Linked DNA regions of Homo sapiens: region 1 is linked to region 2. The links are contacts of gene promoters, found by promoter capture Hi-C in blood cells and fetal thymus (Javierre and others, 2016). All regions are on one chromosome and are shown on one strand. Each heading gives the region's core, a stretch centred on a gene start or on the middle of the fragment in contact. The rest is flanking DNA. Distances are from core to core; before and after follow the strand shown.

Region 1 (6,862 bases), core at 1,859-4,358, 240 kb after region 2:
AGGGTCCCTTGTGTGCTGGTGTTTGTGTTTTGCAGAGGGGGTGGTCATGCTGGGGGAGGTAGGGCTGCAAGAAGGAGTAGTTGTCTGTGTGCACACATGGAGCTGTTTGCATCTTTTGTGCACCTGCAGTTGTGTGCTCAGGATTTCTTGGAGCAAGGCTGGGTGCACCTTGTCATGCAATCTGCACACACTTGCCAAGTGCCTTCCCCACCCAGCACCATGCGGGGGGTGCCATGGGGGCTGGTGGCCACGTCCTGTCCTCATGGAGCTCACACTCTAGCAACACATATGGGGTTTCCATCAAAGCTCTCCTATCAGCTGGGCGTGGTGGCTCATACCTGTAATCCCAGCACTTTGGGAGGCTGAGGTGGGTGGATCACCTGAGGTCAGGAGCTTGAGACCAGCCTGGCCAACATGGTGAAACCCCATCTCTACTACAAGTACAGAAATTAGGCAGGCATGGTGGTGTGCACCTGTAGTCCCAGCTACCAGGGAGGCTGAGGCAGGAGGATTGCTTGAATTCAGGAGGCGGAGGTTGCAGCGAGCCGAGATTGTGCCACTGCACTCCAGCGTGGGCGACAGAGCAAGACTCATTCTCAAAAAAAAAAACCCAAAACAAAAAAGCAAAACTCTCCTGTCATGCGAGTTGGGGAGAAGGCATGTGTCTCCTTTTCGAGGGTAGCCCCAAATTCTGACTGCAGTAGCCCACAGGCTTGGACTGTCCTGGGGTCTGGCCCTTCATGGTCTTTCTGGGCCACCTCCTCCCTCCTCGTTGCTCCTCCAGTGTGCTAAGTGTGATCCTACCCCGGGGCGTTTGCACTGCTGTTCTGCCATCTAGGACCCTTCCCCAGATATTTGCGAGGCTTTTTCTCCCCCACCCTCTTGAAATATCACCTCCCCAGTAAGGTTTACTCCCAGGCACCTTCTGCAGAGTCTCAGCTTCCCACACCCCTCCTGATGTTCAGTACAGCAGACGGCTTTTCACATAGGCTGTAATTTCCTGATGTTCTGCGCTTGTTTGTTTACTGTCTGTGTCTGTGAGGAGGATCCAAGTGCGCGAGGATGTTGTGATTTGCTTTGCTTTGGGAATCCCAGGTGTCAGCAGTCATCACTGGCCCACAGTGTGCGTTCAAGAAGTCTTACCTGACCCAGGTGTGGTGACTCACACCTGTAAACCCAGAATGTTGGGAAGCCGAGGTGGGAAGATTGCTCGAGGACAAGAATTTGAGATCAGCCTGGGCAACATAGCAAGACTCGTTTCTAAAAAATTTTTTTAATAGTTGGGCATCGTGAATATGCACCTGTAGTCTCAGCTGCTCAGGAGGCTGAGGTGGAAGGATCGCTTGAGCCCAGAAGTTTGAGGCTGCAGTGAGCTATGATTGCACGAGTGCACTCCAGCCTGGGCGACAAAGCAGGATCCTGACTCTTAAAAAAAAAAAAAAAAAAAAAAGGCCCCTGCCTTCACTGTCTCCTGTTCCAAAATTTGGGGGGAGATAAAAATTCAATAAATAGATGCCCAGGCCAAAAATAGCCTTGCCCCCCCGCCAAAAAAAAAAAAAAAAGCCTCAGAATAGTCAGTGCCCCTCCCTCAGAGGCTAAAAATACCCTGCAGGTCACAAATGATCAGGTCAGGAAGCCAGGTGGATTCTCCTTCCTGTCCTTGAGGAGGTGAGGGGTCCGGGGCTGGCTTTCTCAGACAGGATTTCCCAGATGATTTCCATTACTCCTGACTTTGGCACTGCATCATTCTCTGTGGGAGGCTGTCCTTTGTACTATAGGATGCTCAGAGGCCACCCTAGCCTCTTCCCGATGGATGTCAGTGACACCTCCAGCCCCACAGTTGTAACACCTCGGAACGTCTCCAGACATTGCTAAACATACTGGGATCAGGGGCAGAATTGTCCTGGGTTGGCAGTGATGGCTGTAGAGTAGAGGTTGCCAGTGGGGCAAGGTGGCCCACGCCTGTAATCCTAGCACTTTGGGAGGCTGAGGCAGGAGGATCACTTGAGTCCAGGAGTTCAAGACCAGCCTGGGCGACAAAGCGAGACCCCCTTCTTTACAGAATAAAAAATTAAAAAATTCGTTGGGCATGGTGCTGCACGCCTGTCGTCCCAGCTACTCGGGAGGCTGAGGCAGGAGGATCACTTGAGCTGGGAGGTCAAGGCTGCAGTGAGCTGTGATCCCGCCAGTGCATTCCAGCCTGGGCAACAGAGCAAGACCCTGTCTCAAAAAAATATATACATAAATAAAATAGAGTAGAGGTTGGCTGACTTTCCTGTAGAAAGCCCGATGGTAAATCCTGCAAGCTTTGCGGGCCGCAGACGGGTTCTGTGGCCTGTTCTCTTTTCTCTTCTCTTCAGTCCTTTAAAAATGTAAACACCATTCTTAGCTCACCAGCTGTACAAAAGCAGGCTGGGGCCTGGCCATGGTTGGCCGACCCTGCCCCAGAACGCCCCCTAGTGGCTTCTGGGAGTGAAGGCTGGGCAGAGGGGCGGCCCCATTTGGGGAGCAGTTGTGTGCTTAAAGTACAAGGCGAGTCCCGCGCAGTCTGTTCCCGGCACCTCCCTGCTCTCACCTCCTCCCACTCTCCTCACCAGCTCACGACCCGCTTCCTCGATGCAGCTGCCACCGTTATTCAAACATACAGGCACAGTCCAGCCCCAGGGCCTTTGCACGGGCTGTGACCCTGCCTAGGACGCTCTTCTAACTCTCCTGAACTGATCACCTGCGTGCTCCTCCCTCAAATTCACAGAGGTTTGCTAAAATGTCATCTTCTCCAGGGGAGATGACCTTTCTTGATCATCCTGTTGAAAATTGCAACAGCCGGGCACAGTGGCTCATGCCTGTAATCCCAGCACTTTGGAAGGCCGAGGTGGGTGGATCACCTGAGATCAGGAGTTCGAGACCAGCCTGACCAACATGGTGAAACCCTGTCTCTACTAAAAATACAAAAATTAGCTGGGCGTGGTGGTGGGTGCCTGTAGTCCCAGCTAATCAGGAGGCTGAGTCAGGAGAATCGCTTGAACCTGGGAGGCAGAGGTTGCAGTGAGCCAAGATCATGCCATTGCACTCCAGCCTGGATGACAGAGCAAGACTCTGTCTCAAATAAATAAATAAATAAAAGAAAATAAAATTGCAACAGCCGGGCATAGTAGCTCATGCCTGTAATCCCAGCACTTTGGGAGGATGAGGTGGGAGGATTGCTTGAGTTCGAGACCAGCCTGGGAAACATAACGAGGCCCCCATTTCTACAAAAAAATTAAAAATTAGCTGGGCACGATGGCACACGCCCTGTGGTCCCAGCTACTTGGGAGGCCGAGGCAGGAGGATCCCTTGAGCTCAGAGGCTGTGGTGAGCCATGATCCCACCACTGCACTCCACCCTGGGCAACAGAGCGAGACCCTGTCTTTAAAAATACGATTAAAAAAAAAAAAACACTCCCAAACCCACACACACTCATAGCCACTTTTCCTGGCTTTATCTTCTTTCACAACACTGGTACGCTACAGAGTCGACTTTTTTGTACCCAGCCCCTCAGTGTCTGGCACATAGAAGATGCTCCAAAAAAGATGTGTGGAATTGCCAAAAATTATTTCTAACCCCCACAGCCACCCTGGGATGCTATCGTTCCCCAGCTCCCCCGTGGAGAGACAGAATTGAGAGGAGTGATGTGGGTGTCCTGTCGTGCCGACATGACGGCGCACAGCCTGGATTTGAACCTGCAACTTAAGGGCGCTATGCCCGGGGCCTCTTCTCTCCTGCCCTGCTAGGCACCATGCCCCCGTCTCCTGGTCTCACCCTGCCCCTTAACTGCCGGCATCTGATGAGGCAGGGGGATCCCGCCTCTGTGCCCTCTGCTCGGGCCCTAGCTTCTAGAACTCTTCAGCTCTGCTCTGCTGAGCTCGGAGTGCAAAGCTTGGGGCTGGACAGTGAACACTTTGGAGTGGAAACAGACCACAGGCCACAGGCCACAGGACCTGCCATGATGGTGAGCACAGCAGAGGTGCAAGTCAGGGAAGGCTTCCCGGAGGCGGGGGCTTCCCAGCTGCAACCTGGAGTGGGAGGAGGGGTATGGCGGAGGGGAAAGAGCATCTGTGAGAGAGAGGGGCTGCCCTGAGGTCAGACAGAAGGTGGTGGCTCAAAGGGGAGGAAGGAGAGATGTTTCACAACTGCACATGGAGAGAAGCTGGAGGCTGCTGGCTGGCCTTGTGACTGTGAGTCTGTTTGGTTTGTCCGTGGGGCTGCCAGGGCCTGTGGCAGGGATGGGGGTAGAGGTAGGGGGTTTATGTCAGGATCCAGATGTCAGGGTGAGAATGTTTAGCATGAGCTCCCTCTAGCTGCTACATGGGAGAGAGCCATAGTTGGCAGGAAGGGAGGCCAGGAGGCCAGAAGGGAGGCCAGGAGGCAACCAGCAAGGTGAGGGCCAGAAGCAGCCAGCACTTGGTGGAAGCTTCAGGTTTCTGGCTTTGACAGCCCTGTGGACAAAAGGCAAGGGACAGGTGGGGTAGGGAGTACCCTCCACTCCCAGCAACCCTCCCCACACACAGTCTGATCTCCATCTCTGTGGCCAGAGGACACCTGTGAACACCCGAGCCAGATCCCATCCCTCCTTTGTTCAGGATTCCCAATGGCTCCCACCTCTCTAGAAAGCCAAAGTCCTCCTTGAGGTCCACAAGGCCCTGCATGGCCTCTGTGACCCCCCTCCCCAGCTGCCCTCACCTCCTTCCACTCTTCCCTTGCTTGCAAGGCCCCAGCCACATCTCAGCACATTCCTACCCCAGGACCTTTGCACGTGCTGTTCCCTCTGCCCAGAATGCTCTTTCCACAGGTACCTAGATGGCTCACCTCCTCAAGACCTCTGCCAAAATGTCACTTTTTAGGGGAGGTATTTCCTGGCCACCCTGTCTACAGTTGCACCTACACGTATACCCCCTCTCAGGCACACCTTCCTCCATTGCACTTGTGACCAGTTGGGAACTCGGTAAACATCCACTGAATAGATGATCTGCTTTTTGGGTCTATTTCATCTTCATTCATTAAACAAATGAACAAGCATCCACTCCTTGCCCAGGGCTGGGTATGCAACAAGAGCCAGCCCAACCCGCAATGGTACTTTGCCCTCAGAGTCCCTCGATGGTGGAGAAGACAGACATTAAACAGCTGAGTCCAAGTCCAGTTAGGGGAGCAAAACACAGAGGCCCTGTGTTCTGTGAGAGTGGATATGAGAGATACGAATGCCGTCCTCTGGGCAGAGCCCTTTGGAGGGAGAGCAGAATAAGGAACTGTGTGTGAGAGAGAGACAGACGCTGAGTAGAAGTGATGGGAAGGTGGCAGGACAGCAGGGCCTGAGATGCCATGTTAGAGCATCACAGGCAATAGGGAGCCATGGAGGGTTGTAGGCAGGGAGGGGTGTAATTGGATTTCCATTTTGCAAAGATCATTCTGGCCTCAGGGTAGAGACTGGATGGGACAGGGGTAGCAGATAGATGGGGAGACGAAGGAGAAGGTGTCGGGGGGGTGCAGGGAATTTTTTGAACGACCCCTACCGCTCTGCAGTCTAGTGCTGCTTGGTGGCTGGGGTGACCTTTATTTTATTTAGAGACGGAGTCTTGTTTTGTCACCCAGGCTGGAGTGCAGTGGCATGATCATAGCTCACTGCAGCCTTGACTTTTTGGGCTTGAATGACCCTGCTGCCTCAGCCTCCCAAGTAGCCAGGACCACAGGTGTGTGCCACCATGCCTGGCTAATTTTTAAATTTTTGTAGAGAGAGGATCTCACTGTGTTGCCCAGGCTGGTCTCAAACTCCTGGCCACAAGCAATTCTGCATTGGTCTCCCAAAGTGCTAGGATTACAGGTATGAGCCACTGTACCCAGCTCCAGGGTGACCTTTAAAAGGTTCTTCATTGAACAATTATATTTCAGCTTCCTGCTTGTGCCAGGCACTGTGCTGAGTGTAGTATGCAAACCCCACCCTGCAGAGCCAGCATCTAGTAGCAGAGAGTTCATAAGCAAATAAAACGCATGGCGTGCTGGTGATAGGTATGGAGAAATCAAGTCAGGACACGGCGTAGGAGTGCGGGGGCCAGCAGGACCTTGCCGAGCTAGTGATGTTTGAGGAACGACCAAAAGGAAGATGCAGGAGGAGCTGTGAGGGGATCTGGAGAAGAGAGAAACAGCCCGTGAAGAGGCCCTAAGGCAGAACAGTGCCTGGTGTTTCACATTGTACAGGGCCTGTTTGTTTTTTGTTTTTGAGATGGGGTCTTGCTCTGTTGCCCAAGCTAGAGTGCAGTGGCATAATCTCAGCTCGCTGCAACCTCCACCACCCGGGCTCAAGAGATCCTCCCACCTAAGCCTCCCGAGGAGCTGGGACCACAGGCGTGTGCCACCATGCCTGGCTAACTTTTTGTATTTTTGGTAGAGACAGGGTTTCACTATGTTGCCCAGGCTGGTCTGGAACTTCTGAGCCCAAGCAATCAGCCCGCTTCAGCCTCCCGAAGTGCTGGGATTACAGGTGTGCGCCGCCACATCCGGCCCAGTGCAGAGCCTTTGTATGATACAGACTTTGGCTTTTGGTCGAGTGAGGTGGGAGCCACGGAGGGTTCTGAGCAGAGGAGGGAAGCAGCTGACTTAGATGCTCACAAGCGCCCTCTGGTGGCCATGGGGGAAACATACTGTAGACAGTTTCATTTTGCAAAGATTGTTCTCACCTCGGGGTAGAGATTGGATGGGACAGGGGTGGCAGATAGATGGGGAGACGAGGTGTAGACAGTGAGGTGGGGAAGTGGGGTCCAGCCAGGAGATGATGGGGCTGGACCAGAGAAGCTGAGGAGTGGCGAGAGGTGAGTGGGCTCTGAAGGAGTAG
Region 2 (7,222 bases), core at 2,518-5,017:
TGATCTGCCCCTACCTGAACTGCCTGCAAGAAGAGGCAGTAAATTCTTTCTGGAGAAAGACAACATCATCTAGATCCTCAAATGATTAATACAAAGTTGTATCTATAATATATAGCATCCAATCAAAAGTTCTTATTATCAAAAGACAAGATTAAATTGTGAATGATCAAGAAAAATAGAAACAATCCTATGGGAAGTACAGATTTCTCAGTTATCAGAAATTTTTAAAGAATGATGATGGGCCGGGTGCGGTGGCTCACGCCTTTGTAATCCTAGCACTTTGGGAGGCCGAGGTGGGCGGATCATCTGAGGTTGGGAGTTTGAGACCAGTCTGGCCAACATGGAGAAACCTCATCTCTAATAAAAATACAAAATTAGCTGGGCGTGGTGGTGCATGCCTGTAATCCCAGCTACACGAGAGGCTGAGGCAGGAGAATCACTTGAACTCAGGAGGCGGAGGTTGCAGTGAGCTGAGATCACGCCATTGCACTCCAGCCTGGGTGACAAGAGCGAAACTCCGTCTCAAAAAAAAAAAAAAAAAAAAAAAAAGCCGGGCGCAGTGTCTCATACCTGTAATCCCAGCACTTTTGGGAGGCTGAGGTGGGAGGATCACAAGGTCAGGAGTTCGAGACCAGCCCAGGTAATATGGTGAAAGCCCATCTCTACTAAAAATACAAAACTTAGCCAGTGTGGTGGCAGGCACCTGTAATCCCAGTTACTTGAGAGGCTGAGGCAGGAGAATCCTTGAACTCAGGAGGTGGAGGTTGCAGTGAGCCGAGATCGTGCCACTGCACTCCAGCCTGGGCGACAGAGCAAGACTCTGTCTCAAAAAAAAAAAAAAAAAAAAAAGAATGATGATGAATGAATTCAAGAAAGTAGAAGACAAGATGAAGAATTTTAGCAGGTTTTTTTTTTTAAGACAGGGTCTTACTCTGTCACCCAGGCTGGAGTGCAGTGGTGTGGTGATGGCTCACTGCAGCCTTGACCTCCAGGGCTCAAGCAATCCTCCCACTTCAGCCTCTTGAGTAGCGGGACTATAGGGCGCATCACCACGCCTGGCTAATGTTTAAATTTTTTGTAGAGATGAGGTCCTACTATGTTGCCCAGGCTGGCCTCAAACTCCTGGACTCAAGCAATCCTACCACCTCAGCCTCCCAAAGTGCTGGGATTAGAGGCATGAACCACTACATCCAGCCCGATAATTAAAACATTTAAAAATTAAATCAACAATTTCACTTCTGGACAAAATGGATTAGCTGTATTTCTTTCTATTTTTCCCACTAAGCACAGCAAAAAAAAAAAAAATCATATATATATATTTTTAAAAAGACTCAAAAAGGTGGAAAGAAGAAGGCAGACCAGCTAAGGACCTCAGAATGTAAAGAACATGAAGGTGAGTTCCCTGGGTTTCCTTTTTGTTTCCTATGTCCTATACTGGGTGCTGGAGAAACTGGCAACCTAGAAATGCCAAAGGGTGCAGACAAGAAAAGTCCAAAGGAAAATGGAAAGCCTTCTCTCTCCAGACAAGGGATGAGGAAACAGGTATCCTAACAAGACAGAATACTTTTGGACAATAATTTCACCACTCTGGACAAATGCCACAGAAAAAACTGAGGCCCATCTTCACTCCTTGCCATCAAAGGCTGAGTGAGGAGGCTAGGCTTCCACACTCACCTGGCTCTAATGAAGCACTCCACCCATCCCCCACTTGGACTTCTCGTCCATTGCACAGCAGCAATGAGGCTCCCTGCCATGGTGGCAGTGGGGACCACATGCGGAGCAGTAACAAGGCACCCCCTCCCTGGGGAATCAGTGAAGGCCAAGGGAGAGCCTGAACTTCCACTGCCACCTGGAAGTAGCAAGCATTTCCCTATGTCCCCCAGCAGCATAGTGTCAGAGGAAGTCTGCTTAAACAGAAGACATAAATAAGATCAGAATCTCATAACAAATACCTGAAACATCAGGATACAATTTATAAAAATTGTCATTCCAATAGCCCAGAGAACTTCGACTTGAGTGAAAAAAAGACAACAGACCCCAACATCAAGATGACACAGATGTTGGAATTATCTGATGAGGACTTTAAAGCAGCTCTAATAAAAATACTTTAGTGAGCAATTACAAACAAACTTAGAACAAATGATAAAACGAGTCTCAGCAAAGAAACAGAAGATATAATGAGGAACTGAACAGAAGTTTTAGATACGAAAAATGCAATAATTGACATGAACTCAACGAATAGGCTCAACAGCAGAATGGAGGGAACAGAGGAAAGACATACTTTCTGTCAGCAAATCTGAAGACAGAATAGTAGATAGTACCAAATCCGAATGATGGAAAATAGACTGAAAAAAAATTAGCATAACTTCAGAGCTATGTGGGACATTAACACAAGATCTAGCATTCACGTCATCAGACTCCCAGAAAAAGAAGAGAAACAGTATGAGACAGAAAAAGTATTGGAAGAAACAATGGTTGAGAATCCCCCAAATTTGGCAGAAGACATAAATGTCAGAATCAAGAAGCTGAGGATATCCCAAACAGGATAAATCCAAAGAAATCTACACCAAGGCACATCATAACTTCTGAAAACTAAAGAACAGTTCTTGAAAGCAGTGAGAGAGAAAATGTATTTTAGCTACAGTGGAAAAACAATTCCAATTTTAGTCAATTTCTTATCTGAAACTATGGAGGCCAGAAGGAATTGGCACATTTTTCAAGTGCTGAAGAAAGAAATTGTCAACTTCAGATTGTATATCTGGCAACAATATCCGATCCCCCAAGAATGAAGGGAAATCAAGACATTCTCAGATGAAGAAAAACTAATAGAATTTGTCACCAGCTGATCTACTCTTTAAAAAAAAAATGGCTGAGGGAAATTCTTGAAACAGAAAGGAAACGATTAGAAAAAGGAATCTTGGGACACTAGGAACGAAGAAGAGTAAAATATGCATAAATCAAGTAAGCTTTCCTCTTCTCTTGAATTCTCTAACTTATGCCTGACCCTTGAAGCAAATATTGTAACACTGATGTGGTTCTCCTCAATGAATGCAGAGGAAATACTTAAAAACAACTATATTATAAATGAGTGGGGGAAAGAACTTTACAGGAATTAAGGTTTCTACACTTCACTAGAATTAAGTCAGCACCGGTAGACTGTGATAATTTATGTATCTATAAAGTGTGGGTTTGGACAGCAGATTTTATCAGGTTGAGGGCTCAGGCCGAGAGCATGTAGAAGCAGTTAGCTCACTCTTTCTAGATGTGGCGGCTGACAAGGACAAAGAGGGCTGGGACTAGAACTGCTGTAGACAAGGAAAGCAGCCAGTGGAGAAGAGCGCATACGCCAAAGAACGTGGATGATGGAGCACAGGCGGGGAGGTAGGATGAAGGAAATGGCTCTGGGAAGAAAGGGTCTCTATGTCTGAGAAAGGAAGAAATTGGCTGAAGATACAAATTAGAGACAAGGTGAGGGAAATTGAGGGAGTTGCCTGAGGATGATTCTCCTCCCAGTCAAGTAGGCACCTGCTGAGAGAAAGGATAAGCCGAGATGAGGGAGATGATGATGGTTTGGGGCGCAGAAAGCGGGAATGAAAGACAGGAGCTAAAGCCGAAGTTTTTTCTCTCTCGCTACTTAAAAGCTGTAAGATAACGAATTGATCAGCAGGTGGCAGTGTCCGCGGAGGCTCGCATCCCGTCGGCCCTGGCTCTCAAGGCGGAAACACGCACCATGGTGACTTTCCGGCCTGCATCGCCTCTGCTCCCCTATCCCGGCTGACGTTGGACGACAAAGATGGCGGCAGGGACCAGCAGTTACTGGGAAGGTGAGGGCGAGAAGGCCTCCGGGTGCGTCCTACGAGGGTGAGAGGGGCTGAGTGAGGACAGATCTTGGGAGAAGCAGCACAGGAAAGAACCAGACTCCCGGAGCGGCCGAGCTGAGCAGCGGGGCTTGCCTAAGTGGGATCCCCGGGGCCTTGGGGATACCGAACGGTCTGGGGTAGGGGTCTGGCCTGGCCGGGGCGTGTGAGCGGGACGTGGGGCAGGGGTTGGGCAGAGTGGACAGAGCGGGGATGTAGAGGAAGAGGGCTCTCAATCGCCTGGGTAGAATTGTGTTGAGGGAGTAATGGAACTCGGACGAAGGGGCTTGGGGTACGAACTCTGAGAGGAAACGAATGTTGAGGGAGAAGATCCAGAGCCCCGGAGACTGGAGGAGTCAGCGCATTGGAGCTGAGGTCACTATTGGAAAACTGAGTGGGAAAAGAGAAGGAGGAACTTGCATTCCGGTCCGTCGGAGGAAGTATGAAGAGAATAGGAGACAGAATGTCTCTTATTGGGTCTCCATGACAACTACAGGTTGGGGACTTCCAGGACTGGGTGTTTGAAGGAGGAGAAAATAACTTACCCTTCTGCTCTAGAGTCTAGAATCGGTTTTATTGAAAAAGTTGAGAGAACCTGTGTGAATTGCAGTTACATTTGCTATACTTCTCCCACCAAAAAAACCTTCCTGTGATTTGACAAATGCATTTGTTTAATTCCTGAAACTATAGTCGGATAAAGTGAGCTTACATAAAACTCATTCGTGGATTATGATGATCAACAAGAGCAGAGAAAGCTCACCTTTTTCTCCCAACTGTCTCTTTGCTTTACAGCCGCATAGAAACTACTTTCCAAATTCCTTTGACCTGTTTTTATTGCTATACACTGAAGCCTCTAGAAACCACAGTATTGTCACTATCAGCCCCTTGGTCTAAGAAACTCAATTCTAAATTTATCCAGATTTGCCTATCATACTTTCAAAATGCTTTTACTTATGTTTCCTACTAGAGAAGACAATTATTCCAATCACAGAAAAGCGTGCTTATAGTTTAAAACATGTATTACAATGCCCATTTGAAATGTGTGTACCAGCTAGAAAACTTTTTTTTTTTTTTTTTTGGAGACTCGCTATGTCGCCCAGGCTGGAGTGCGGTGGCGCTATCGATCTCGGCTCACTGCAGCCTCCGCCTCCTGCGTTCAAGCGATTCTCCTGTCTCAGCCTCCTTAGTAGCTGGGACTACAGATGCATGCCACCACGCCTGGCTAATTTTTGTATTTTTAGTAGAGACGGGGTTTCACCATGTTGGCCAGGATGTTCTTGATCTCCTGACCTCGTGATCCGCCCGCCTCTGCCTCCCAAAGTGCTGGGATTACAGGTGTGACCCACCGCGCCTGGCCGCTAGAAAACATTTTAAAATTATGTAGAAGAGGCTACTGATATCTTTATTACTAGTCATTAGCCTGTGGTTTTTTGAAGCAGCATGCTATAATATTACAGCGGCTCATTACTGACAACCTACTCTGTGCCAGCTGCTGTAAGCATATGATTACCAATACATAAGCAAACCCTGAAGGTAGGGGTTTAAAAAACAAGAAGCTGAAGTTCATAGGTTAAGTAGATTGTTGATAAATCATAGAGTCAGTAAGTGGCTGTGCCGAGATTCGAACTGGCATTTGGTCTCTGGGCAAATATGCTCCACTATGTTAACTACGCTTTCTATTTCTGGTTGAAAAGCATATTGAAATAATGTTTTGTATTCTTTTTGAAAGAGAGATTCTTATACCATTACCTCTGGTACTTCTGCCCTTTTATTTTAACCTTCACTTCACCATGAATGAGAATACTCGTATCTGTGTGTGGGTGTCCAGACTGTGGCTTCTGTCACGCAACCCTTAGATGCCAGACTGCTAAACCAATTTCTCTACTTGCCTGTTTGCTTCTGCTATTAAAACTTATGTACTTATTTCTATCATACTCATATTCGACCTTGTTAGTAGCACATTGTTTATTGTTAGTTTTAGCCCTCCAAATTACTTTCAGTAAGTTTTTTTCTTTTTTTTAGATGGAGTCTCGCACTGTCGCCCAGGCTGGAGTGCAGTGGCTCAATCTCCACTCACTGCAAACTCTGCCTTCCAGTGCCTTCCAGGTTCACGCCATTCTCCTGCCTCAGCCTCCTGAGTAGCTGGGACTACAGGCGCCCACCACCACGCCTGGCTAATTTTTTGTATTTTTAATAGAGACAGGGTTTCACCGTGTTAGCTAGGATGGTCTTGATCTCCTGACCTCATGATCCGCCTGCCTCGGCCTCCCAAAGTGCTGGGATTACAGGCGTGAGCCACTGCGCCTGGCCTCAGTAAGTTTTTTAAAGGCGGTTTTTGGCCAGGTGCGATGTCTCATGCCTGTAATTCTAGCACTTTTGGAGGCCCAGGCAGGAGGGTCACTGGAGTTTAGGAGTTCGAGAGCAGCCTGGGCAACATTGTGAGAAAAAACAGAAAAGAAAAAAAGAAAGAAAAAGGCAATTTTTGTGGTAACTTTTTTTCTTTATGTTCAATTGAGAAGTCATTTTGGTCCGGGCGTGGTGGCTCACACCTGTAATCCTAGCACTTTGGGAGGCCAAGGTGGGTGGATCACTTGAGGTCAGGAGTTAAAGACCACCCTGGCCAACATGGTGAAACCCCGTCTTTACTAAAAATACAAAAATTAGCCAGGCATGGTGGTGTGTGCCTGTAGTCCCAGCTACTTGGGAGGTAGTTGAGGCATGAGAGTTGCTTGAACCCAGGAGGTGGAGTATGCAGTGAGCCAAGGTCATGCCACTGCACTCCAGCCTGGGTGACAGAACGAGACTCCATCTCAAAAAAAAAAAGAAAAAAAAAGGTAAGTCATTTTGCTATTATGAAAAGAAGTTCATAAGCCTAATAAAGCTTTGGAACATAAAAAGCAAAATCCCTTTCAAAAGAATAATGGCTTCTTTCTTATAACATTAACTGGTAAGTTGATAATGCTGGTCATAAACCATATTTTTAGTTCCTTTGTGATTTGTATTATCTTCTTGTTTTTCTCTGAATTGCAGAATTTTAGTTATTGCTATACAAATAGTTTCAGGAAGGATAGAACAACATTTGTTTTCTAGCCATCTTTGGAGTAAAGCTGCGAAGTTGCATCTACCATTACTATTTCCCTTCTTGCCCCCTCTGAAGTTTATAAGTGACTAATCTGCTTTGCTGGGCAAGTCCTTGGTTTCCTTCTTTTAAGACTTTTATTTTCCTTTTTTTGAGACATAGTTTTGTTCTTGTTACCCAGGCTGGAGTACGATGGCGCAATCTTGGCTCACCGCAACCTCTGCCTCCTGCGTTCAAGCGATTCTCCTGCCTCAGCCTTCCGAGTAGCTGGGATTACAGGCGTGCG

What was found. The method cuts DNA at HindIII sites, captures the fragments that hold promoters and counts their contacts. A CHiCAGO score of 5 or more calls a contact.
Region 1: a contact is called between a fragment that was not itself captured here and the fragment with the promoter of GOSR1 in region 2, in 1 of 17 cell types (endothelial precursors). The highest score is 5.7, in endothelial precursors.

What each region holds. Positions count from the first base shown.
Region 1 is chr17:30,712,842-30,719,703 of GRCh38, forward strand. It overlaps the pseudogene SUZ12P1. Among named protein-coding and RNA genes, the nearest start is that of CRLF3, 110 kb to the right of the region's middle. RefSeq lists an enhancer at 6,505-6,554. The HindIII fragment of the contact is 1,609 bases long and covers 2,305-3,913 here.
Region 2 is chr17:30,473,641-30,480,862 of GRCh38, forward strand. It overlaps GOSR1 (golgi SNAP receptor complex member 1), which reads left to right and starts at 3,768. Exons shown (of 9, transcript NM_001007025.2): 1 at 3,768-3,824. The coding sequence starts at 3,794. RefSeq lists enhancers at 3,512-3,661, 3,812-4,031. The HindIII fragment of the contact is 3,772 bases long and covers 2,965-6,736 here.